3 separate regions of the Homo sapiens genome follow, and all the other regions are linked to region 2. The links are contacts of gene promoters, found by promoter capture Hi-C in human tissues and cell types (Jung and others, 2019). All regions are on one chromosome and are shown on one strand. The core of a region is centred on a gene start or on the middle of the fragment in contact, and the rest is flanking DNA. Distances in the headings are between cores, read along the strand shown. Region 1 overlaps RSPO2 (R-spondin 2). Region 2 holds the start of RSPO2 (R-spondin 2). Region 3 overlaps RSPO2 (R-spondin 2).

Region 1 (3,430 bases), core at 924-3,423, 140 kb after region 2:
AAGACATAAGATAACATGGTAAAAAAAAAACACCCCAAAATGTAACCTATTAAAACTAGGAATAATTTAAATTAGAATAAGAGCTCAGGCCCGAATAAAAGAAAAAATAAGCTATTTAGATCTGTGTTGGTTGAAGTAATTGAGCCAAAAATTTGACTTTAGGTTTGCTACCAGGCAAAGGGAAAAAGTAGACATGGTTCTAGGTTGATTTAAAATAAGTGCTTGATTTTAAAATATCAATTTAATAGCAGCTTTTAGAGGGGAAAATCACATATGTATGTATCTGTTTATACACAATAAACACACATGTATGGTACATGTACACACATGCACATATATACAAATACTTATTCCAATTTCAGACACATTAAAGTGTGCATGTGTTCAGGGAGGTAGTAGGACTTATGGAATTGAGGAAATTCTCACAGAAAAAAGCTCAGTAGGGAGGCAAAAGCTAAACACATTTCTGCAGTATTAGACTTCTCAAGTGGGGAATCACATGGTGGACGATGTCGTCACACCACCCATGTCACATACATGCTTCCAAAAGGTAGAAAGCAGCTTGGCGTTTATCCTTGGATGAAGGCTGAAGGTGTGACTATGAACTTGACTCAATAGTGGCATGAGTAATACTGATTCAGGACTTTAAAAAAATCATATAAATTTAAAGGGTACAAGTGCAGGTTGGTTGGTGTATTGCATAATGGTGAAGGTTAGGCTTTTAGTGTAACCATCGCCCAAATAATGTACATTGTATTCATTAAGTAATTTCCTATTCCTTAGCCTCCTCTCAACTTCCCAAATTCTGAGTCTCCAGTTTCTATTATTCCATACTCTAAGTCCATGTCTACCTCTTATTTCTCTCCTACTTACAAGTGAGAACATAAGAGTTTTCTGTTTCTGAGATATTTCACTTAGGATAATGGCCTCCAGTTCCATGGAATCAAAATGTTTTGACTTATCAGTTGTTTTTTGCTGTAATCACCCAGTAGGCTATTTTGGTGAATATTGAATGCCTTTGGAACTTCATGGTATCTAGTGAATGCAGGAAATATGTAGATCTACGTTTATAGCAGTACAATTCGAAATTGTAAAAATATGGAACCAACCTAGATACCCATCAAAGAGTGGATAAAGAAAATGTGGATATACACCATGGAATACCACTCCGCCACAAAAAAGGAATGAAATAATGGCATTTGCAGCAACCTGGGTGGAGTTAGAGACCATTATTCCAAGTGAAGTAACTCAGAAACAAAAAACCAGATATTGTGTGTTCTCACTTATAAGTAGGAGCTAAGCTCTGGGGACACAAAGGCATACAAATGAAATAATGAACTTTGGGGACTTGGGGGGAAGGGGGTGAGGGATAAAAGACTACACATTGAGTACAGTGTACACTTCTTGGGTGACAGGTGCCCCAAAATCTCAGAAATCACCACTAAATAACTTATTTCATGTAACCAAAAACCACCTGTTCCCCAAAAACTATTAGGGGGAAAAACCTCCCCAGGTGTTTCTAATATGCAATAAAATTTGAACCAAAAAAAAAAAAAAAGGTGCAGACCTATTATATTGCAGGGGGCAGTTACTCTTCAAACTTGTCAATAAATATGTATTTTCTAAATAGATTTTTATTTATTTATTTATTTATTTTTTTTTTGAGATGGAGTCTTGCTCTGTTGCCCAGGCTAGAGCACAGTGGTGTGATATTGGCTCACTGCAAGCTCTGCCTCCCAGGTTCATGCCATTCTCCTGCCTCAGCCTCCTGAGTAGCTGGGACCACAGGCACCCGCCACCACGCCCAGCTAATTTTTTTGTATTTTCAGTAGAGATAGGGTTTCACCGTGTTAGCCAGGATGGTCTTGATCTCCTGACCTTGTGATCTGCCTGCCTCGGCCTTAAGATATTCTTAAATAAGGTCAGGAGTTGCATATTTAGGTGCAGAGTTATTTCTGGTGATTATCTCAAGGCCTGCACTCATATTTTTAGATAACCTTTTGCAATTTTTTGTTGTTTCCTCTCCAAGGCTGGCCTTTGATTATCTTAATCTGTGTCAAAGCTATTTGTTATGAGAGAACCAAGGAGATTTTGAGTAAATGTTTACCGAATTGCATTGACTTTTAAAAAATATGTTACAGGATGCCTTCCAATTTCTCTTTCAACCTACTTCCCCAAGATAATCCAGTGTTGGAGCTGGGATTTAAGCAATCTGTCATTTTTCTATTGCCGTGTCTTTAGGTCCATTGAATCAATTAAGCATCCATTACTTCCTATGTTCTAAAGAAATGGGAAGATTGGGAGGAGAGAGTGATACAAACAAGAGAGTTTATAGCCAGGTTACGGAATAAGAAAATGCACATTAAAGATAAAAGGCAAAGCTTAATTTTTAAATTATTGAGTGTCAGGTAAAGATGACATTGTTACAGGCTCTGATACTATAGAACAAAAGGTATTGTTTTTAGCTGCCATTGCCAGGGAATAGGAATAGTTCCTGAAGAGGATAACTTATATTAGGAGGAGTGGGTAGAAACCATGTTTAAAAAGGGAGATCATTTTAGACAGAACACTGTGAGGAAAGATACACCAGAATGTGCCTCATGCACCCAAGGGAGGTGAAGCAAATGAACCTGGCCGAAACGCAGAATTTGTGAATGGCAGTCACAGAAGCTCACAGAAAAAAATATAAGTTGCAGCCTGACTGAAGTGTGTCCATGGAGAAGACAAGGAGTTTGAATTTTACCTTGTGTACTGTGGAGAGCTATGAGACATTTGAGTGTGAAGGTGTTTCAGTAGAAAGCTGACTGAAGATGGAAGTGACTGAAATGGTGTTGCTAAAGTGTTAGGAAGAGGATCAACTGTACATCCCTGATTTAGGGCAGAGCATTAAACAGAGTCTGAGTCTGATGAGAGAATTAGCAGAGAATACTTACGGGTTCTGATGTTTACGTGTTTTCCTGTTGTTTGCTTTTCTAAAGAGTGGAGGATTTTGCCTTGGCTTGTGGTCCACTGTGGCCCCTGTATCTCTTTTTGCCAACTTTCTAAGCCAGGCCATTCTCTAGTTTGTATTTGTACAGTTTTTTCTTTTTCTTTTTTTGAAATCTAGGCACAATTTGCTTTCACCCTAAGTGAACTATATTTGTTTCTAACTACTACTTTCATCTGCCATTTACCAAGATCCTTGGATGTAGTATTTCCTATTTTCTAGCTTGCCATGTTAACCTTATAATGAGTTTCCTGTACTAGCCAGCTTGGAGTACTCTGAAAATTTAAAGTACACAAATCAAATATTCAGGTCAAGGATGAAAATGTTCCTACAAAGTTCAATTTCAATTGTATAATCTAACATGGTTTTATCTAACATGCCGCTGACTAGCAAAAGCAGTGTCCTGGAACATTGGGTTGAAAAGGATTCTGAGTTAAATGCTGT
Region 2 (3,355 bases), core at 245-2,744:
GGCTTACTTAGGGAAGACTTCCTTTCTCCCATAGATTTAACTCCTTTATAAGTATAATTCATTTGTTGTGTGCATATATGACTATATTTGGAAAGAAGTAGTATTTATGGTGCTGAAGAGATATTCAGCATCATATCAAGATGATCAAGAAATATCAAGTTATGCCAAACACTGGGGCCACTCCCTACACTGAAATGTTTCCAAATTCTGTGATAAAAATCAAAGGCTCAAAAGTCAAGAAACAGATCCACTGTTTCTGCAATGTGTTTTGTGAACTCTATTTGTGCCCTGTGGGCCAGTCTCAGTGATGGATTTTCTTATCTATGAAATGGGACCAATGACCTCAACTCAGATTTACTTGGGTGTTCTCAGGCATGCATCAAAGGCATACTGCTGAAATTCTTAGCACATAAATACCACTATGTAATAGTGAGTCTGTAAAATAGTTATGAATAGGCAATAATGGAATAGTTAATAAATATGAGTATTGCAATATTCTTTTTATATGATTGTCTTTTAAGTCATCAAATTTCTGAACATCTTCTGAAACTGAAGGAATAGAAAAGGGAATTTAAATAGTATAAAATGCTATCATAATAATATGGTAACTGCGGGCATATCTATAGACATTCATACTGCCACGGTTAGTGGCATAAATTCTTATCTTTTGCTTAAGGAATAAATACATTTTTTCCTACAGTAGTGAATGCAGGACAGATTTCACCAGAATGAAATTGGATGGCATCAAGTCTATTTAATGTAACACTTTGTTAAACAGAATATTTTCCCCAAACCCAAAGCACCTAAAAGTTTAATTCAGGAGACTTTGGAAATGAGAGGAGGATTAAGAATGAAAAATACTTTAGTGGGAAGTGAACTTTTTAAAATTATTTTTAAAGAATCAAGGCCCCAACTTCTTCAGCACTTCAGGCAACGGATCACAGGTTTTTGTTTTATTGGAGAAGAAACAAAGTAAATAACAGTTCTGAGGATGAACAAAAGCTGTTGGGAATACCCATTTCACTCCTCAAAGTGGGGGCGCGTTTTATGAATAATTTCAGCCGGCTAACATACCTTCCTGCAAAACACAGACAAGATGTAAATTAAAAAGTGGCAGAGTTGTGGCATATTGCAAAAGTTTAAAGGGAGTCATCAGTCCTTCAGTCAGATCTCCCTGCAGAAAGGTTGGCGCTGAGGTTGGAACTGACCCTAGAGGGCTGGAGAGGACCCCTTGGGGGTGAGCAGCCGGGTTCTGGGACCCAGCAAGGTCAGGGGGCGTCTCCCCAGCTACTCTTTATCTATCCCCCGCACTCTGGAAAGCCCGAAGAGGATTCGCTCCAAGTTAGGCGCGCTGTTGGCTGTCAACGTTCTTTAGGACCTCAGGGAAACCGGGACGTTTCTGGCTTTAGGACCCAGGAACTCCGAGGCAGCCTAGACTTAGATGCCTTGGACCACAGCACCACCTACTTATAGAAGCATCCCAAGCCTCAGCCGGTCTGCATCTCCATCGGAAAGTGCGCTTGCCACATCCCTTCGGATCACTTCGTCCTCCCGAGAGCGTTCTGCCTTCTACAGCTCGGAAAGAAAGAAATCTTAGCTGTGAAGTGACCGTGGAGAAAGCGCAGGAAGCGACACAATTGGTTAGGGAGGCAGAGAGTGTGAGCGGGCGCACCCCTTGCCTGGGGACCGCGCTCGCGGGCGGGGACGGAGCATCCCAGTGGCTGCACCCGCCGCTCCGCGCTCCTGCCTGGCGTCGCCAACCCCGCGGCGGCCGCTGGAATTCCAGAGCTGCCAGGCGCTCCCAGCCGGTCTCGGCAAACTTTTCCCCAGCCCACGTGCTAACCAAGCGGCTCGCTTCCCGAGCCCGGGATGGAGCACCGCGCCTAGGGAGGCCGCGCCGCCCGAGACGTGCGCACGGTAGGCAACCCACACCAAGGCAGCCGCAGCTGCGGCGCTTGGGTACACCGCCGTGGACTCCAAATGGCCTAAGAGCGTTCTTTTAGCCCTGCGCTCTCAGTGCCTTTAGAGTTCTTTCCTTTCCCCGGAGCGCCGGCACAACGCATTATGCCGCTGGGTCGGAGCTTAGGGCTCGGCAGAGGTTGCTAATTCACTGATTATAATCACCTTCCTCTCCAACTCGTCCGCAGCTGCCCGCTCTGGATTAAGCCGCTCCGCGGCTCGTGCTAGGCAGTGGGTTCGCTTCCTCCTTCCCTCTCTTCTTTAAATTGGGACGTGCGAAGGCGCAGCTGCCTCCCCGGGGCTCTCTCCATCCCCCACACACCCTGTTTTCGCTTCTTGTCTCTCAGGTTCGTGGCGGAGAGATGCTGATCGCGCTGAACTGACCGGTGCGGCCCGGGGGTGAGTGGCGAGTCTCCCTCTGAGTCCTCCCCAGCAGCGCGGCCGGCGCCGGCTCTTTGGGCGAACCCTCCAGTTCCTAGACTTTGAGAGGCGTCTCTCCCCCGCCCGACCGCCCAGATGCAGTTTCGCCTTTTCTCCTTTGCCCTCATCATTCTGAACTGCATGGATTACAGCCACTGCCAAGGCAACCGATGGAGACGCAGTAAGCGAGGTGGGTCCCTCTCTGCCAAAGGTGCGTGGTGGGCTTCAGGGGTGGCGTGTGGAGGCGCTCACTCACGCCCTGGCTCCGGGGGCTCAGATGGTCAGGGCTGTGCTCTCCACCCCAGCTTTTGCGGGTCCCCAGTCCCCACCTTTAGGACCCTGGAGCTCTACAAAACACTCTGTTTTCTGTACCCTGGAGGCGCGGGGAGCCGGAGCGAGACGCGCTGGGAGCTCGGCGAGCCGGGCGCCAATCGGGCGCTCAGGGCTAAGTCGTGCGGTCCGCACTCATGTTCGCCGCCCCACCTCCTCATCTAAACTTGTCTCTTTAGGACGTATTTCTTATCTGACATGCATTTTTTTTTTGTCGTCGTTGTTCTTCTCTCTGTCCTCCTAACCATCTTCCCTGTAGCTCATTTGTTTTATCTTCCCCATCCACGTGCGCCCCAAACCCGGCCTCAGATCTCTTCGGACTTGACCTAGCATAGTGTGTGTGTGGTGTGTGGGTGTACCCAAGCGTGTGTCTGTATTCCGGAGCTTGGGAGGGGTACCAAGTCGAGGGGGAGGACCTCCCTTTCCAGAAAAAGGCCAACATAGATCTCTTTTTTCTGGAAACTGCGACGAGATGGGAACTTTCTGAATTAAGCAGCAATTCCCGCGCTGGTTTTCTGGGGAGTCCTCGCCTCCAGAGGTTTGTTTTTAAAACAGGCCCCACTTCGCTCTCTCCATTTGCTTTGCAAAAGCAGCCACACCGGTGGAGGCTTCTGTTCTCAATGAAATTCACTTGCGGCTTTTTAAC
Region 3 (3,685 bases), core at 234-2,733, 160 kb after region 2:
GGGCATGTAACTTGCCATTGGTCCCCAACTGCGAGAATTGTGGATGTAATTTCTTTTTGGTAAACATCCATCCTGAAGTGAATTTATCTCCTCTACACATTTGTTTTCCTTTGGGTGTTTTCCTTTTGTTGTATGATCCTCACTTCGTTGGACATGAGTACTTCTGTAGTGTTACTTATCCTCTCAAAACAATGAAAAATTACTTTTGCAAAGCTGTTTAAGTCAGAGGATGTAAAATGGATCCCATCCAAAGCAGCCATTACCATCCATCAGAGGTAGGAAGAGAGACGTCTACTACCAGTCAGACAACTCACAGTCCATGGTGTGACTGAGCTGTGGCAGCAGCCGTGGCATTGGCCTTGCAACAGTGTCAGGGCATGCGGTCCAGCCTTTCTTGTGATTTGGCTCTGAGTTAGATTGATTTATATGGTTGGTTTAAGGAAGGCTAAGAAAATCTATTCTTGATCTTCTGGTCTCATTGACATTCTCTGTCACTGTCATTGTTATTATCACCACCAACTACCATCACCACCACCACTAACATGTACTGATGCTCACAATACGCCATGAACCGGACTAAACTTTTACTTAATTTCCTTATTTAATCATAACGCCAACTTTATCTCATAGGAACTACTATTTCTCACACTTCACAGATGAGAAACTGAAGCCCTAGAGAAGATACCCGCTATGAAGCTTTGGATAAGTTACAGTGGCAGAGCTGAGGCTGAAACCAAGGCTCAGTCTCCAAAGAGCATGTTCTAAACTTGTCTGTTATATTGCTCTCCTGAATTAAGATGATTGTTGGAAAGCATCCACTTTAGGAACTCACCACTTTTAAACATTCCATACATCAAAATTTGGAATGGCATTTCTCCTAGTTCTGTTACTTTTATGTAATCTAAGTGCCTTTACTAAAGGGAATCAAAAGGTTAGGCTTAGAAGCACAGTGTTGGAGAAGTCTTTACAGTGTAATCTGGAATACTTTGGCAAGATTAAATTTTTAGTCTTTTGTTTAAAATAAAAATGACATTTCAAAAGAAGAATAGGCAGTATGTGTTTATATAAAAAGCTAATTATTCAAACTTTGTCAGCTAAGCAGTACATCTGTTAACTATGTATTTTTTAAAAGGGTAAAGGATGATCTAATAAGGTTTAAGGAATGTAGAGATTATATGGAACCTGGTGGCTATTTTTCTCTCTCAGAAACTACTGAAGTAACGACAGAAGGGGGTTCAGAGTTCAAATAATCAAGAGATCCTTAGCACTTAAGGTTATTAAGAATACTTAAGTATTCTCATGGGTCTCTAAAATACTTTTTCCAGGATAAATGCAGGTATACATATTTTAAGGCATATATATAGAGCAGATGAGCCCTCTAGGTCTTTACCTGCACAGTGATTTTTTTGGTCTATATTTAATATTTCTGATTAGTTAGGAATTTTAGAATTTGCTAGTTACCATTGGTGTAAACAAAACAGAATTGGACATGTGAGTTGCTCTCCATTATATAAACCTTAGTTGCACATCTGTAATACAGAGTATTTGAACATAGGATTAATGATCACTGGCCTCTGATGAACATCGATACAAAAATCCTCAATAAAATACTGGAAAACCGAATCCAGCAGTACATCAAAAAGCTTATCCACCATGATCAAGTGGGATTCATCCCTGGGATGCAAGGCTGGTTCAACATATGCAAACCAATAAATGTAATCCAGCATATAAACGGAACCAAAGACAAAAACCACATGATTATCTCAATAGATGCAGAAAAGGCCTTTGACAAAATTCAGTAGCCCTTCATGCTAAAAACTCTCAATAAATTAGGTATTGATGGGACGTATCTCAAAATAATAAGAGCTATTTATGACAAACCCACAGCCAATATCATACTGAATGGGCAAAAACTGGAAGCATTCCCTTTGAAAACTGGCACAAGACAGGGATGCCCTCTCTCACCACTCCTATCCAACATAGTGTTGGAAGTTCTGGCCAGGGCAATCAGGCAGGAGAAAGAAATAAAGGGTATTCAATTAGGAAAAGAGGAAGTCAAATTGTCCCTGTTTGCAGATGACATGATTGTATATCTAGAAAACCCCATCTTCTCAGCCCAAAATCTCCTGAAGCTGATAAGCAACTTCAGCAAAGTCTCAGGATACAAAATCAATGTACAAAAATCACAAGCATTCTTATACACCAATAACAGACAAACACAGAGCAAAATCATGAGTGAACTCCCATTCACAATTGCTTCAAAGAGAATAAAATACCTAGGAATCCAACTTACAAGGGATGTGAAGGACCTCTTCAAGGAGAACTATAAACCACTGCTCAATGAAATAAAAGAGGACACAAACAAATGGAAGAACATTCCATGCTCATGGATAGGAAGAATCAATATCGTGAAAATGGCCATACTGCCCAAGGTAATTTATAGATTCAATGCCATCCCCATCAAGCTACCAATGACTTTCTTCACAGAATTGGAAAAAACTACTTTAAAGTTCATATGGAACCAAAAAAGAGCTCGCATTGCTAAGTCAATCCTAAGCCAAAAGAACAAAGCTGGAGGCATCATGCTACCTGACTTCAAACTATACTACAAGGCTACAGTAACCAAAACAGCATGGTACTGGTACCAAAATAGAGATATTGACCAATGGAACAGAACAGAGCCCTCAGAACTAATACCACGTATCTACAACTAACTGATCTTTGACAAACCTGAGAAAAACAAGCAATGGGGAAAGGATTCCCTATTTAATAAATGGTGATGGGAAAACTGGCTAGCCATATATAGAAAGCTGAAACTGGATCCCTTCTTACACCTTATATAAAAGTTAAGATGGATTAAAGACTTAAACGTTAGACCTAAAACCATAAAAACCCTAGAAGAAAACCTAGGCAATACTATTCTGGACATAGGCATGGGCAAGGACTTCATGTCTAAAACACCGAAAGCAATGGCAACAAAAGCCAAAATTGACAAATGGGATCTAATTAAACTAAAGAGCTTCTGCACAGCAAAAGAAACTACCATCAGAGTGAACAGGCAACCTACAGAATAGGAGAAAATTTTTGCAATCTACTCATATGACAAAGGGCTAATATCCAGAATCTACAAAGAACTCAAACAAATTTACAAGAAAAAAACAACCCCATCAAGAAGTGGGTGAATGATATGAACAGACACTTCTCAAAAGAAGACATTTATGCAGCCAAAAAACACATGAAAAAATGCTCACCATCACTGGCCATCAGAGAAATGCAAATCAAAACCACAATGAGATACCATCTCACACCATTTAGAATGGCAGTCATTAAAAAGTCAGGAAACAACAGGTGCTGGAGAGGATGTGGAGAAATAGGAACACTTTTACATTGTTGGTGGGACTGTAAACTAGTTCAACCATTGTGGAAGACAGTGTGGTGATTCCTCAGGGATCTAGAACTAGAAATACTATTTGACCCAGCCATCTCATTACTAGGTATATACCCAAAGGAATATAAATCATGCTGCTATAAAGACACATGCACACATATGTTTATTGTGGCACTACTCACAATAGCAAGGACTTGGAACCAACCCAGATGTCCAACAATGATAGACTGGATTAAGAAAATGTGGCACATATGCACCATGGAATACTATGCAGCCATAAGAAAGGATGAGTTCATG

Evidence for each region. Contacts are between HindIII fragments. The study calls those that stand out against the background at their distance.
Region 1: a contact is called between a fragment that was not itself captured here and the fragment with the promoter of RSPO2 in region 2, in 4 of the 25 tissues and cell types used here (IMR-90 fibroblasts, dorsolateral prefrontal cortex, mesenchymal stem cells and 1 more).
Region 3: a fragment that was not itself captured here is called in contact with the fragment with the promoter of RSPO2 in region 2 in 2 of the 25 tissues and cell types used here (dorsolateral prefrontal cortex and neural progenitor cells).

Annotation. Positions count from the first base shown.
Region 1 is chr8:107,947,093-107,950,522 of GRCh38, reverse strand. The region is part of intron 5 of RSPO2 (R-spondin 2); the gene reads left to right. Among named protein-coding and RNA genes, the nearest start is that of RSPO2, 130 kb to the left of the region's middle. The HindIII fragment of the contact is 5,256 bases long and covers 1-3,430 here.
Region 2 is chr8:108,081,759-108,085,113 of GRCh38, reverse strand. RSPO2 (R-spondin 2) reads left to right here and starts at 1,494. Exons shown (of 6, transcript NM_178565.5): 1 at 1,494-1,917; 2 at 2,307-2,569. The coding sequence starts at 2,476. RefSeq lists silencers at 2,463-2,638, 3,179-3,355 and an enhancer at 2,355-3,301. The HindIII fragment of the contact is 6,606 bases long and covers 1-3,355 here.
Region 3 is chr8:107,925,727-107,929,411 of GRCh38, reverse strand. All of the region lies in intron 5 of RSPO2 (R-spondin 2), which reads left to right. Among named protein-coding and RNA genes, the nearest start is that of RSPO2, 160 kb to the left of the region's middle. The HindIII fragment of the contact is 3,185 bases long and covers 1-3,075 here.